Regions from separate parts of the Homo sapiens genome. Here region 2 is linked to region 1. The links are contacts of gene promoters, found by promoter capture Hi-C in blood cells and fetal thymus (Javierre and others, 2016). All regions are on one chromosome and are shown on one strand. The core of a region is centred on a gene start or on the middle of the fragment in contact, and the rest is flanking DNA. Distances in the headings are between cores, read along the strand shown. Region 1 holds the start of CAAP1 (caspase activity and apoptosis inhibitor 1). Region 2 overlaps IFT74 (intraflagellar transport 74).

Region 1 (5,643 bases), core at 1,560-4,059:
TCATTAGAAGATGGGTTTAGTTCTGTACGCAAAATGTTTTCAATATTCAATTGACCAGTGTTGTTGGTCTCCCCATCATAACGGAGTGGGAAACTGGTCAGGCGCGGTGGCTCACGCCTGTAATCCCAGCACTTTGGGAGGCTGAGACGAGTGGATCACCTGAGGTCAGGAGTTGGAAACCAGCCTGACCAACATGGTGAAAACCTTACCTCTATTAAAAATACAAAAATTAGCTGGCCATGGTGGCGGGCACCTGTAATCCCAGCTACTCAGGAGACTGAGCCAGGACAATTACTTGAACCTGGCAGGCGGAGGTTGCAGTGGGCTGAGATGGTGCCACTGCACTCCAGCCTGGGCGACACAGTGAGAGCCTATCTCAAAAAAAGAAAAAAAAAAAGGAAACTATTTAAAATAAGAATGGTAATATCCAAAACTGAATCTAGAAGGGGTGGGAAAACTGAATAGATCTATATTAAATAATTTTTTTAAAGAGTGTCTTAAAAAATCACTCTAAAAAACTCCACTAGACCCAGATACTTCTGACAAATATTTGAGAAGAAAATATAAACCATTCTAGAACACACCAAAAAAACACAAAGCTTCCTAATTCAATCCATTACAAAAATAAAAACTACAGTCTGATCTAATTTAGAAACATATACATAAAAGTTGGCCGGGCACGGTGGCTCACGCCTGTAATCCCAGCACTTTGGGAGGCCGAGACGGGTGGATCACGAGGTCAGGAGATCAAGACCATCCTGGCTAACACGGTGAAACCCCGTCTCTACTGAAAATACAAAAAATTAGCTGGGCGTCGTGGCGGGCGCCTGCAGTCCCAGCTACTCGGGAGGCTGAGGCAGGGGAATGGCCTGAACCCGGGAGGCGGAGCTTGCAGTGAGCCGGGATCACGCCACTGCACTCCGGCCTGGGCAACAGAGCGAGACTCCGTCTCAAAAAAAACAAAAAAAAAGAAACACATACATGAAAGTAAAAATACTGAATTCCAGCCAAGTACAACAAACTCAACAAACCAAACAGCACTTGTCCCAAGACTCCAAAGACTGTTCAACATCAACTAACTTATCAACAAATTACATTATCTGACTAAAGGAGAAAAAGTATGTGATCATCTCAACAGAATGCCAGAAAACCACCTGATAAAATCTCTACATAAACTGTTTCTACTCTACCAAAGAGAATAATGAGCAGAGGATATGTACAGAAAATTACATAAGAAGAAATCAAATGGCAAATAAAAATATTAAAATGTTCAATCTCACTAATAAGGAAAATAAAAATTAAAACAAACTATTAATTTGACCCACTAGTCTGGCAATTTTTTTAAAAAATGCCATCAAAATGTCATCAAAAGCTAGTTAAGAATCTCAGAAATAGGTATTCTTATATATATACTGTTTGGACTATAAATCTGTAAAGTCTCATTTGGAAAGCATTTGGTGGCATTCATAAGTTTTTAATAGCATAAACTTTGACCCAGGAATTTCAGTTCTCACACTCTCTCCCAACATAACTCTTGTAGGAGATATATACATAAAGGTGTTTGTATTGTAGTCACAACAATACAAAAAAACCTGCACACCCAAATATCAGAAAAATATAATACAATACCAGGCAGTCAGTAAAAATAACAAACCACGTATATAAAGAAGCCTATCACAACAATGCAGGTATTCAACAGCGGGAATAACACAATACAGCTTAAGTGTAGGAACTTAAAAACACGTATCTCACGAGGAGTGATTAAAAGAGGCCGCGTATCAAAATACTAATGGAGGGGCAAGAAAAGGGACTTGACGCTTTCCCTTTATTTCCTCATTGAATGAATTTAAAGTACCTATTCATTCATTTGTTTTCAAACAAATTATGAACTTTTTTAAAACGGCGTTCTCTTGGCAGACTGGTGGCGTATAAAGAACATGGCTTTTGTAGTCAGATATTTGGATTCAAACCTAGGAGCTATTAACAAACTCTGTGACCGTGGGTAAAGTTTAACTTCTTTGGGCCTCAATTTTCTTATCTCTAATGCGGAGTTAACCATATCTACGAAAAGGTGAAGACGAAGGGAGAAGTGTTTGGCTCGCAAGGGAAATGAAGGCTAGCTTCCAACTCGTATTCTTCCGGCAGAGTGAAACCATAGGAGTGGAAGGAGCCAAGAGTTTAAAAAATAAATTAAAAAAAAAGTGATCAGGAAATCCAGAAACTTGAAGTTCAAGATTCAAGACACGGATGGGAGTGTGGGGCTCACCAGGACTTAGGTAGGAACATGAACCTCAAGGACGGACGACCTTGAGATTGCCGCGCTAGCAGTGAGCTCCAGCCTGCGCCCCATCCCTCTGGAAGCCCGACTTCTTCCGAAAAAGCAGCAGCTCCAGGAAGCGGCCAGAGGGGCGCGCACGCACCTGCTGCAAGGAGCCCGAGACGCTGGAAGAGTCGGTACTCCTCCGCTTCCGGCGCTCGCTGCGCTCCACGCTGCTCCCGCCCCAACAGCTGCCGCCGCTCCCACCGCCGGTGACACTTCCACTAAAATTGGCGTTCCCACAGCAGCTGACGCTCCCGCAGCCCCCGGCGCTCCCGCAGCCGCTAGTGCTTCCACTGCTGCCGCTGGCCAACGCGGGTACGATGTCCGGGGCCGCGAGCGCTGCGGCCGCCTCCTGACTGCTACGTTTGCGCCGTTTCTCCCGGGAGGACTTTTTCCCCGTCATGATCCCTCTGCTGCAACCATCGGAGGAAAGTCCGCTGTCTCTGGTGCGACCGAAGCCCGACTCCTGCGGCCGTGGGCGGCAGGCACTGGCGTCGCAGGTTATGCGTCACTTCCGGCCGTGGCACAGAACGTGGTGAAGCGTTATGGGCCGGGGTGGCAGGGGGGTTGCCATAACCAGTTGCGCTTCCCCCTCCGGTCGCGGAGGTCGATTTGAGTGTGTAGCGGGTAGCCTGTCTAGTCAGAGTTTGTTTTGTTTTGTTTTTATATCTCTACAAAGGATAGAAGGTGGAACTTACGTCCTTTTAACTTCAAAACTTTTTATTGTTAGTGTTTTGTCTGTTTACAATAAGGTTGAAGTATAGTTGCTGATTCTCCATTTCCGTTTACCTCCAAATCTTAAGATATTAACAACGCTATGACAATAAAGAGAATAGGGAAAAGTTGTTCCATCTCATTTTCCTCATCACCTGGGCAAATTAGGTATTTCTTGCGTAGAGTCTGACATGGACAAGTAGAGCTTGAGTTCGTTTTTGAAAATTGAGAATGGGTCAAAGCTTTATGAGATTTTATGGGTGGATGTAATCTAAATAGAAGGCAGATTTTAAGACAAGGGAGCTAGAACACTTAAAACGTGAACCAAGGTCTTTGTCGTTTCAGCAGGGGCCTTTAGCCACTGAGGGAAAAAGGTAGAGCCTGGGGCAAAGCTAGCTGGGTGGTAGTAATTCTGTGCCTTTCCCTGGGGTAAGAAGCAATTAAAGAAGCTTCCCTTCTCTTTGTCTCCTATTTGTCTCAGTCATTCAACAACTACTTAAATGCCTAAAACCAGCCTAGGGTTAATAAATAGGGACACTTCCAGCCCTAGGAAAACTGTCTTCCCCCAGGCCCCACTCTTAAATTGGCCTTGTAAGGTAAATCCTGGGGCTGAGCCCACTGTGTTCCCAGGAGTTCCGTTAAGTATCACACTCATTGGAGTCATACCTGAAAGGATTGAGAGTGTTGTGTTCACAGATAGGAAAAACACATAAAATTAATAACATGTTACATTTATAAACCTGTTATGAATTGTGTCCCTGAAACCATCATAATTTTAATAAAACTAAATTGCTAGATTTTTTCTTTTTTCTTTTTTTTTTTTTTGAGACGGAGTTTCACTCTCGTTGCCCAGGCTGGAGTGCAATGGCACAATCTCGGCTCACTGCAACCTCCGCCTCCCGGGTTCAAGCATTTCTCCTGCCTCAGCCTCCTGAGTAGCTGGGACTACAGGCATGCGCCACCATGCAGGGCTAATTTTGTATTTTTAGTAGACAAGGGGTTTCTCCATGTTGGTCAGGCTGGTCTCGAACTCCCGACCTCAGGTGATCCACCCGCCTCAGCCTCCCAAAGTGCTGGGATTACAGGCGTGAGCCATCGTGCCCTGCCAAATTGCTGGATTTGTGACAAAAGATAAGCTTTTAGTAGAAGCATAGCTAAACGTTAACCAACTTTTCCTATAGCCCACTTCCTTATAGCTGCTTATTGCTTTATAGATATCTTTGACTCGGTTAAGAAATCTCAAGTTTTCCATTTTGAGATATTTACCAGATTCTGTACTCCAATGGTGTTACAGAAGTTAAGAAATTATTTTAGGCAGATAGAGAGGTAAAGGGGTCTTTGGGAAGTTTTTTTTCTTTTAAAGCAGCTCCAGAAATGTTTCTTGTCTAGCAAAAAAGCTGGGCTGGCAAGCTATGATATGCAAATGCAGGCCGTTAGAAACTGGGTTTACTCAGTATGGCGATTCCCCTCTTCTTCTTGTCCCCACATGTGCCTAGCAACATGGCCATCCCCACATATCCCCACATGTGTAGAACATTGTGGCACCCTACATTCGCATATTAAAAGGCTAGGGTGGGAGGGCCACTTTTTTTGCAGGCTACGTGAATGACATACCTGGTCAAACCAATTCCCTGGGTCATATGCAAATTAGTCACCACCTCCTCCAGCCTCATAATATAACTGGCTCTTGTCTGCTGCACCCAAGGTTCCCTCTTTCATCTGGGAGCCCTCTTCCCTCTGGTTCTGTATGAGGGAGCCTCTTCTTTCTTGCCTATTAAATTCTCCGCTCCTTAAAACAATTCCACTTGTGTCTGTATCGTTTTATTTAAACCAGCACGAGACAAAAGACTGTGGTGTTCCTCCAGTCATTGGAACCATATCAGTGGGGTCACTGATGCTACTCAGTCTGAAGACCCCTTCTGAGAAACGAACTCAGCACAAGAATGCACTTTCTACCTCCTTATGATTACATCCCCCATGCCCTAACCAATCAGCAACCCCTAGCTCCTCAGCCCCCTACCCACCAAAATTCCCTTAAAAACCCCTGTCCAAAAACTTACTGGGGAGGTGATTTGAGGTTCCCTCCCATCTTCTCCCTTGGCTGGCATACCATTATTAAACTCTTTCTCTGCTGCAACTCCTGCTGTTTCCATGTATTGGTCTGGTACCATGTAGTGGTTAATAGAACCTGATGGTCCTATAACATCACCCACAGAATTCATATGTTGAATCCCTAACCCCAATGTGACTGAATTTGGAGATAGGGTCATTAAGGAGGTAATTAAGGTTAAATGAAGTCATAAGGGTGGGTCCCTAATCTAATATAACTGGTGTCCTTATTAAAAGAAGAGTCTGGGCCAGGCATGGTGGCTCACGCCTGTAATCCCAGTGCTTTAGGAGGCCGAGGCGGGTGGATCATGAGGAAGATGGAAACCATCCTGGCTAACACGGTGAAACCCCGTCTCTACTAAAAATACAAAAACAAAATTAGCTGGGCGTGGTGGCAGGCGCCTGTAGTCCCAGCTACTCAGGAGGCTGAGGCAAGAGAATGGCGTGAACCCAGGAGGTGGAGCTTGCAGTGAGCCAAGATCGCACCACTGCACTCCAGC
Region 2 (5,643 bases), core at 2,168-4,667, 140 kb after region 1:
GTGGGCGGAACATGAGGTCAGGAGTTCAAGAGCAGCCTGGCCAATAAGGTAAAACCTTGTCTCTACTAAAAATACAAAAATCCGCTGGGCATGGTGGCACGCACCTGTAGTCCCAGCAACTTGGGAGGCTAAGGCAGAAAAATCACTTGAACCTGGGAGGTGGAGGTTGCAGTGAGCTAAGATCATGCCACTGCATTCCATCCTGGGTGACAGAGTGAGACTCCATCTCCAAAAAAAAAAAAAAAAAAAAGAAAAGAAAAGAAAGAATGTCAAAGATTACAACTGGGAAATGCATCACAAAAAGATCATCACTTAGGCATAGTCATAAGATTATCTAAAGTCAAGACAGAGGAAAGAATCTTAAGAGCTATGAGGCAAAAGCATCAGGTAACCTATAAAGGAAAACCTATCAGATCAATAGCAGATTTCTTAGCAGAAACCCTACAAGCTAGAAGGAATTGGAGTCCTACCTTTAGACTCCTTAAAATAATTATCAGCCAAGAATTTTGTATCCATTGAAACTAAGCTTCATAAATGAAGCAAAGATAAAGTCATTTTCAGAGAAATGCTGAGAGAATTCACCACTACCAAGGCAGCACTACAAGAGCAGTTAAAGGGAGTTCTAAATCTTGAAACAAAACCTCAAAATACACCAAAGTAGAAACTCCTTAAATCATAAATCTCACAGGGCCTATAAAACAACACAATGGAAATGAAAAACTAAGGTATTCAGGCAATAACTAGCACAATGAATAGAACAATACCACATATCTCAATACTAACATTGAATATAAACAGCCCAAATGCTCCACTTAAATATACAGAATAACGGAATGGATAAGAATTCACCAACCAAGTATCTCCCATCTTCAAGTGACTCACCTAATGCATAAGGTCTCACATAAACTTAAGGTAAAAGGGTGGAAAAAGTTATTCCATGCAAATGGTCCCAAAAGCAAGTAGGAGTAGCTATTCTTATATTAGACAAAACAGACTTTAACAACAATTGAAAAAGACAAAGAAGGACATTATGTAATGATAAAAGGACTAATCAAACAGGAAAATATCACAGTACTAAATCTATATGCACCTAACACTAGAGCTCCCAAATGTAAAAAACAATTACCACTAGACCTAACAAATGAGATAGACAGCAATACAATTAATAGTGGGGGACTTCAATACTCCATTGACAGCACTAGACGGGTCAGAAAGTCAACAAAGAAACAATGGATTTAAATTATACCCTAGAACAAATGGACTCAACAGATATTTATAGAACATTCTACCCAACAACTGCAGAATATACATTCTGTTCATCAGCACATGGGACGTCCTGCAAGACAGACCATATGATAGGCCACAAAACAAGTCTCAATAAATTTAAGAAAATCAAAATTATATCAAGTATTCTCAGACCACAGTGGAATAAAACTGGAAATCAACTCCAAAAGGAACCTTAAAAACCATGCAGATACATGGAAATTAAATAATTTGCTCCTGAATGATCTTTAGGTCAACAATGAAATCAAGATGGAAATTTAAAAATTCTTTGAACTGAACAATAATAATGACACAACCTATTAAAACCTCTGGGATACAGCAAAAGCAGTGCCTAGAGGAACATTCAGAGCATTAAGTGCCTACATCAAAAAGTCTGAAAGAACACAAATAGACAATCTAACGTTACACCTCAAGGAACTAGAGCAACAAGCACAAACAAAACCCAAACCCACCAAAAGAAAAGGAAATTACAAACATCAGAGCAGAACTAAATTAAATTGAAACAAAAAATTGAAAGATAAATGAAGCAAAAAGCTGGTTCTTTGAAAAGATAAACAAAATTGATAGACCAATAGCAAGATTAATCAAGAAAAGAAGAGAAAAGATCCAAATAAGCTCAATTAGAAACAAAATGGGAGATACTACAACCAATACCACAGAAATACAAAAGACCAAGCTTACAGTGAGCACCTTTACACGCACAAACTAGAAAACTTAGAGGAGACGGATAGATTCCTGGAAATATACAATCCTAGATTAAAGTAGGAAGAAATAGAAACTCTGAACAGACCATTAACGAGCAGTGAGATTGAAATGGTTAAAAAAAAAAAATTGCCAACAAAAAGTCCAGGACCAGATGGAGCCACAGCTGAATTCTATCAGACTTTCAAAGAATTGGTACTGTTTTACATTTCTATGTAATATAATAAGAGCAGCATATGAGCAGCATGTGAGGGTTCCAGTTTTTCACATCCTCACTTGTTATTATCTCTTTTTCTATTATAGCCATTCCTAATGGGTATGAAGCGGTGTCTCACTATGGTTTTGATTTGTATTTGTTTGATGGCTAATGATGTTGAGGTTCCTTTCATATGCTTATTGGCCATATTCTTTGGGGGAAATGTTTACTTAGTTCATTTGCTCATTTTTTAAACTAGATTGTTTTTGATTACTGAGTTGTAACATTTCCTTATATATGCTAGATAGAGGTGTCATCAGATACATGATTTGTAAAAATTTTCCCTTGTTCTATGAATTCTATGAATTATCTTTTCATTTTCTTGGTGTCTTTGGAAGCATAAAAGTTTCCAATTTTGATTTTGTCCAGTTTTTCTATTTTTCTTTTGTTGCTCTTGCTTTTAGTGTCATATCTAAGAAACCAATGCCTAATCCAAGGTCATAAAGACTATGTCTATGTTTTCTTCTAAGAGTTTGGTAATTTAGTTCTTACATTGAGATCTTTGATCCATTTCAAGTTAATTCTGTGTATGATGTGAGGTAGGAGTCCCTTAGCTTCTGCATATGCACTTTTCCCAGCACCATTTATTGAAAATACTCTTCTTTCCCCATTTAATTACCTTAGCACCCTTATCAAAAATCGGTTAGCTATAGATATATGGTCATATTTCTGGACTCACAATTTTAGTCCATTGATATATATGTCTATCCCTATGCCTATACTACATTGTTTTGTTATGGTAGCTTTAGAGTAAGTATAACTGCTTTATGTTAAAATATTAACCTATATAATCTTCTGCCAGTGGTAGGTTTTCCCTTATTTTCTCATTTTTGAGACTAATTTTCCAACTTAATTTGGCTTATAGAAACCTACAAAAAGTATTGTTAAATATTTTTCATTTTCTTAATACTGCAAATCAAACTCAAAGGAAAGTTGGGAGGGGGTGTGCTGTTTAACTCAGGCAACTAGTGTTCTCAGAATATACCTGGGCTCCAAATATGAATCAGTAAAAAAGATCTATGCTTGGCGCAGTGGCTCGCGCCTGTAATCCCAGCACTTTGGGAGGCTGAGGCAGGTGGATCTCGAGGTCAAGAGATCGAGACCATCATGGCCAACATGGTGAAACCCCGTCTCTACTAAAAATACAAAAATTAGCTGGGCATGGAGGCGCGTGCCTCTAGTCCCAGCTATTCGGGAGGCTGAGGCAGGAGAATCGCTTTTTCCCGGGAGGCAGAGATTGCAGTGAGCCGAGATCGCACCACTGAACTTCAGCCTGGTGGCAGAGCGAGACCCCGTCTCAAAGAAAAAAAAAAAAAGATCTAGACAAGATTCTTCCTCTCTAAATTTATAGTATTGTCCTCATAATAGGATATGCTATTTTTCGATATTTATGCAATTTGTAAAAGATATCCTAATGTCATCGTCAGTTATAGTATTGTCCTTAGAATAAGACATATTATTTTTAGATATTGTTTATGCAACTTGGAAAAGATATCTAACCTCCCCATCAATTGTTTTTATTGAATGTCTATATTTCCTTCATAAATTCATTAAAAATATTTTCAACAGGTTAACAGATACAAAAGAAAAGATAAATCAGTTTATTGAAGAAATTAGACAACTTGACATGGATTTAGAGGAACACCAAGGTATGCTTCTGGTATTTTTATAATGTAGATTAACAGATGTTTAGCAGTATTAATATAGTGTTAACTGGTGTCTCAGAGACTGTTCAACTACCTGGGATTTATTATTTAATTCTCTATGATATTACTAACTTTACTAAAATATATACTGTATGAGTAATATTAAAGCAATGATTTAAACTGACCACTTATGAGTTAAAATGATTGCATAAAATTTATTTAGCTTTGCCAAGCAGTTTGTTTTTTTTTTTACAAAAACAGAAGTAAAATGTTTAAAGTTGTTAGAGATTCCTAAGTTATACTTCCTCCTAAGTTACACTTCCTTCCTAGTAATAGTCAATAGTTTACTATAAACAATATAGTCGGCCGGGTGTGGTGGCTCACGCCTGTAATCCCAGCATTTTGGGAAGCTGAGGCGGGCAGATCATCGGAGGTCGGGAGTTCGAGACCAGCCTGACCAACATGGAGAAACCACATCTCTACTAAAAATACAAAAATTAGCCGGGCGTGGTGGCACAGGCCTGTAATCCCAGCTATTCGGAAAGGCTGAGGCAGGAGAATCACTTGAACTCGGAGGCAGAGGTTGCGGTGAGTCAAGATCGCACCACTGCACTCCATCCTGGGCCACAAGAGTGAAACTCGGTCTCAATAAATAAATAAATTAATTAAATAATAATAATATAGTCAACTACTAATGGCAGTAACTGGTAGCGTTAGAGGGGATGAAAATCAAATCACAAATACCACACAAATAATCCAGACAGAATTAATTCCCCACCCAGGTCTAGTAATGAAGTAGCAAAGACTGATTAACCTTATCCTCCCCAACTTTCCCCAGGAGTGGAATTTGAAGAACTAATGCAGGTACCAGAACACCTGAGGGAGCTTGGGGTTTGACTATGTAGAAATACTGTGGTGGGGGTTTGGGTGTGGGGGCTACATTGTTATTTATGGTTAAAGGAGGAGGTTGAGCATCAGTTTCCTAACAAGCTTCTCCCTAATAAGAAAGATAAAAGTAGATTCTCCATAGCATTTTAATCATAGTTTAACTGCAAACCAGTTACTATGCTCTTGGATTATCAAGAATTGATTGTATATTCTTATGAGTTAGGTATGGTATAAACAGTGTGCACATGTACATGTATTCTTGTTATGGCTAAGGAAACATTCATAGCGGTGCAGTGGCTCAATCACAGCTCACTGCAACCTCAGACTCTTGGGTTCAAGTGATCCTCCTGTCTCAGCCTCCTGAGTAGCTGGGAATATATAACGTCTGCCACTACATCCAGCTAAGTTTTAAATTTTTAGTAGTGGCGCATGCCTGTAATCTCAGCTACTTGGGAGGCTGAGGCAGGAGAATGGCTTGAACCCAGGAGGCGGAGGTTGCAGTGAGCCAAGATCACACCACTGCACTCCAGCCTGGGTGACAGAGCAAGACTCCGTCTCAAAAAAAAAAAAAAAAAAGGGTACACTGTTCTATATTTTAGCAGGGAAGGAATTTGTGTATGTGTGTGCTAACTAGAAACAATGAGAAATAGCTCTAATGAAAGTTATATGGTCAGAATTTGGCTACAAGCTCTGCATCATTAGTAAAGCGGAGTATTATTGGCAGATGTCATGCTACTTTCCAAAAAGCCTGAACCCATCCTGATTTCTCCTTTCTTAGTTGAAATGCCAACAATTGCATATTTGCTTAATTATTGCTTTTTAAAATATTGGCTCTGTATAAGCAAGGGAAAGTAATAGAAAAAGTAT

The links. The method cuts DNA at HindIII sites, captures the fragments that hold promoters and counts their contacts. A CHiCAGO score of 5 or more calls a contact.
Region 2: a fragment that was not itself captured here is called in contact with the fragment with the promoter of CAAP1 in region 1 in 3 of 17 cell types (non-activated CD4 T cells, total CD4 T cells and total CD8 T cells); the score reaches 5.9 in non-activated CD4 T cells.

The regions. Positions count from the first base shown.
Region 1 is chr9:26,889,993-26,895,635 of GRCh38, forward strand. CAAP1 (caspase activity and apoptosis inhibitor 1) reads right to left here and starts at 2,810. Exons shown (of 6, transcript NM_024828.4): 1 at 2,421-2,810. The coding sequence starts at 2,723. RefSeq lists enhancers at 2,209-2,788, 2,360-2,539, 2,620-2,839, 2,789-3,368, 2,970-3,039. The HindIII fragment of the contact is 2,677 bases long and covers 598-3,274 here.
Region 2 is chr9:27,025,214-27,030,856 of GRCh38, forward strand. IFT74 (intraflagellar transport 74) reads left to right here. Exons shown (of 20, transcript NM_025103.4): 13 at 3,812-3,891. Among named protein-coding and RNA genes, the nearest start is that of LRRC19, 22 kb to the left of the region's middle. The HindIII fragment of the contact is 2,918 bases long and covers 1,959-4,876 here.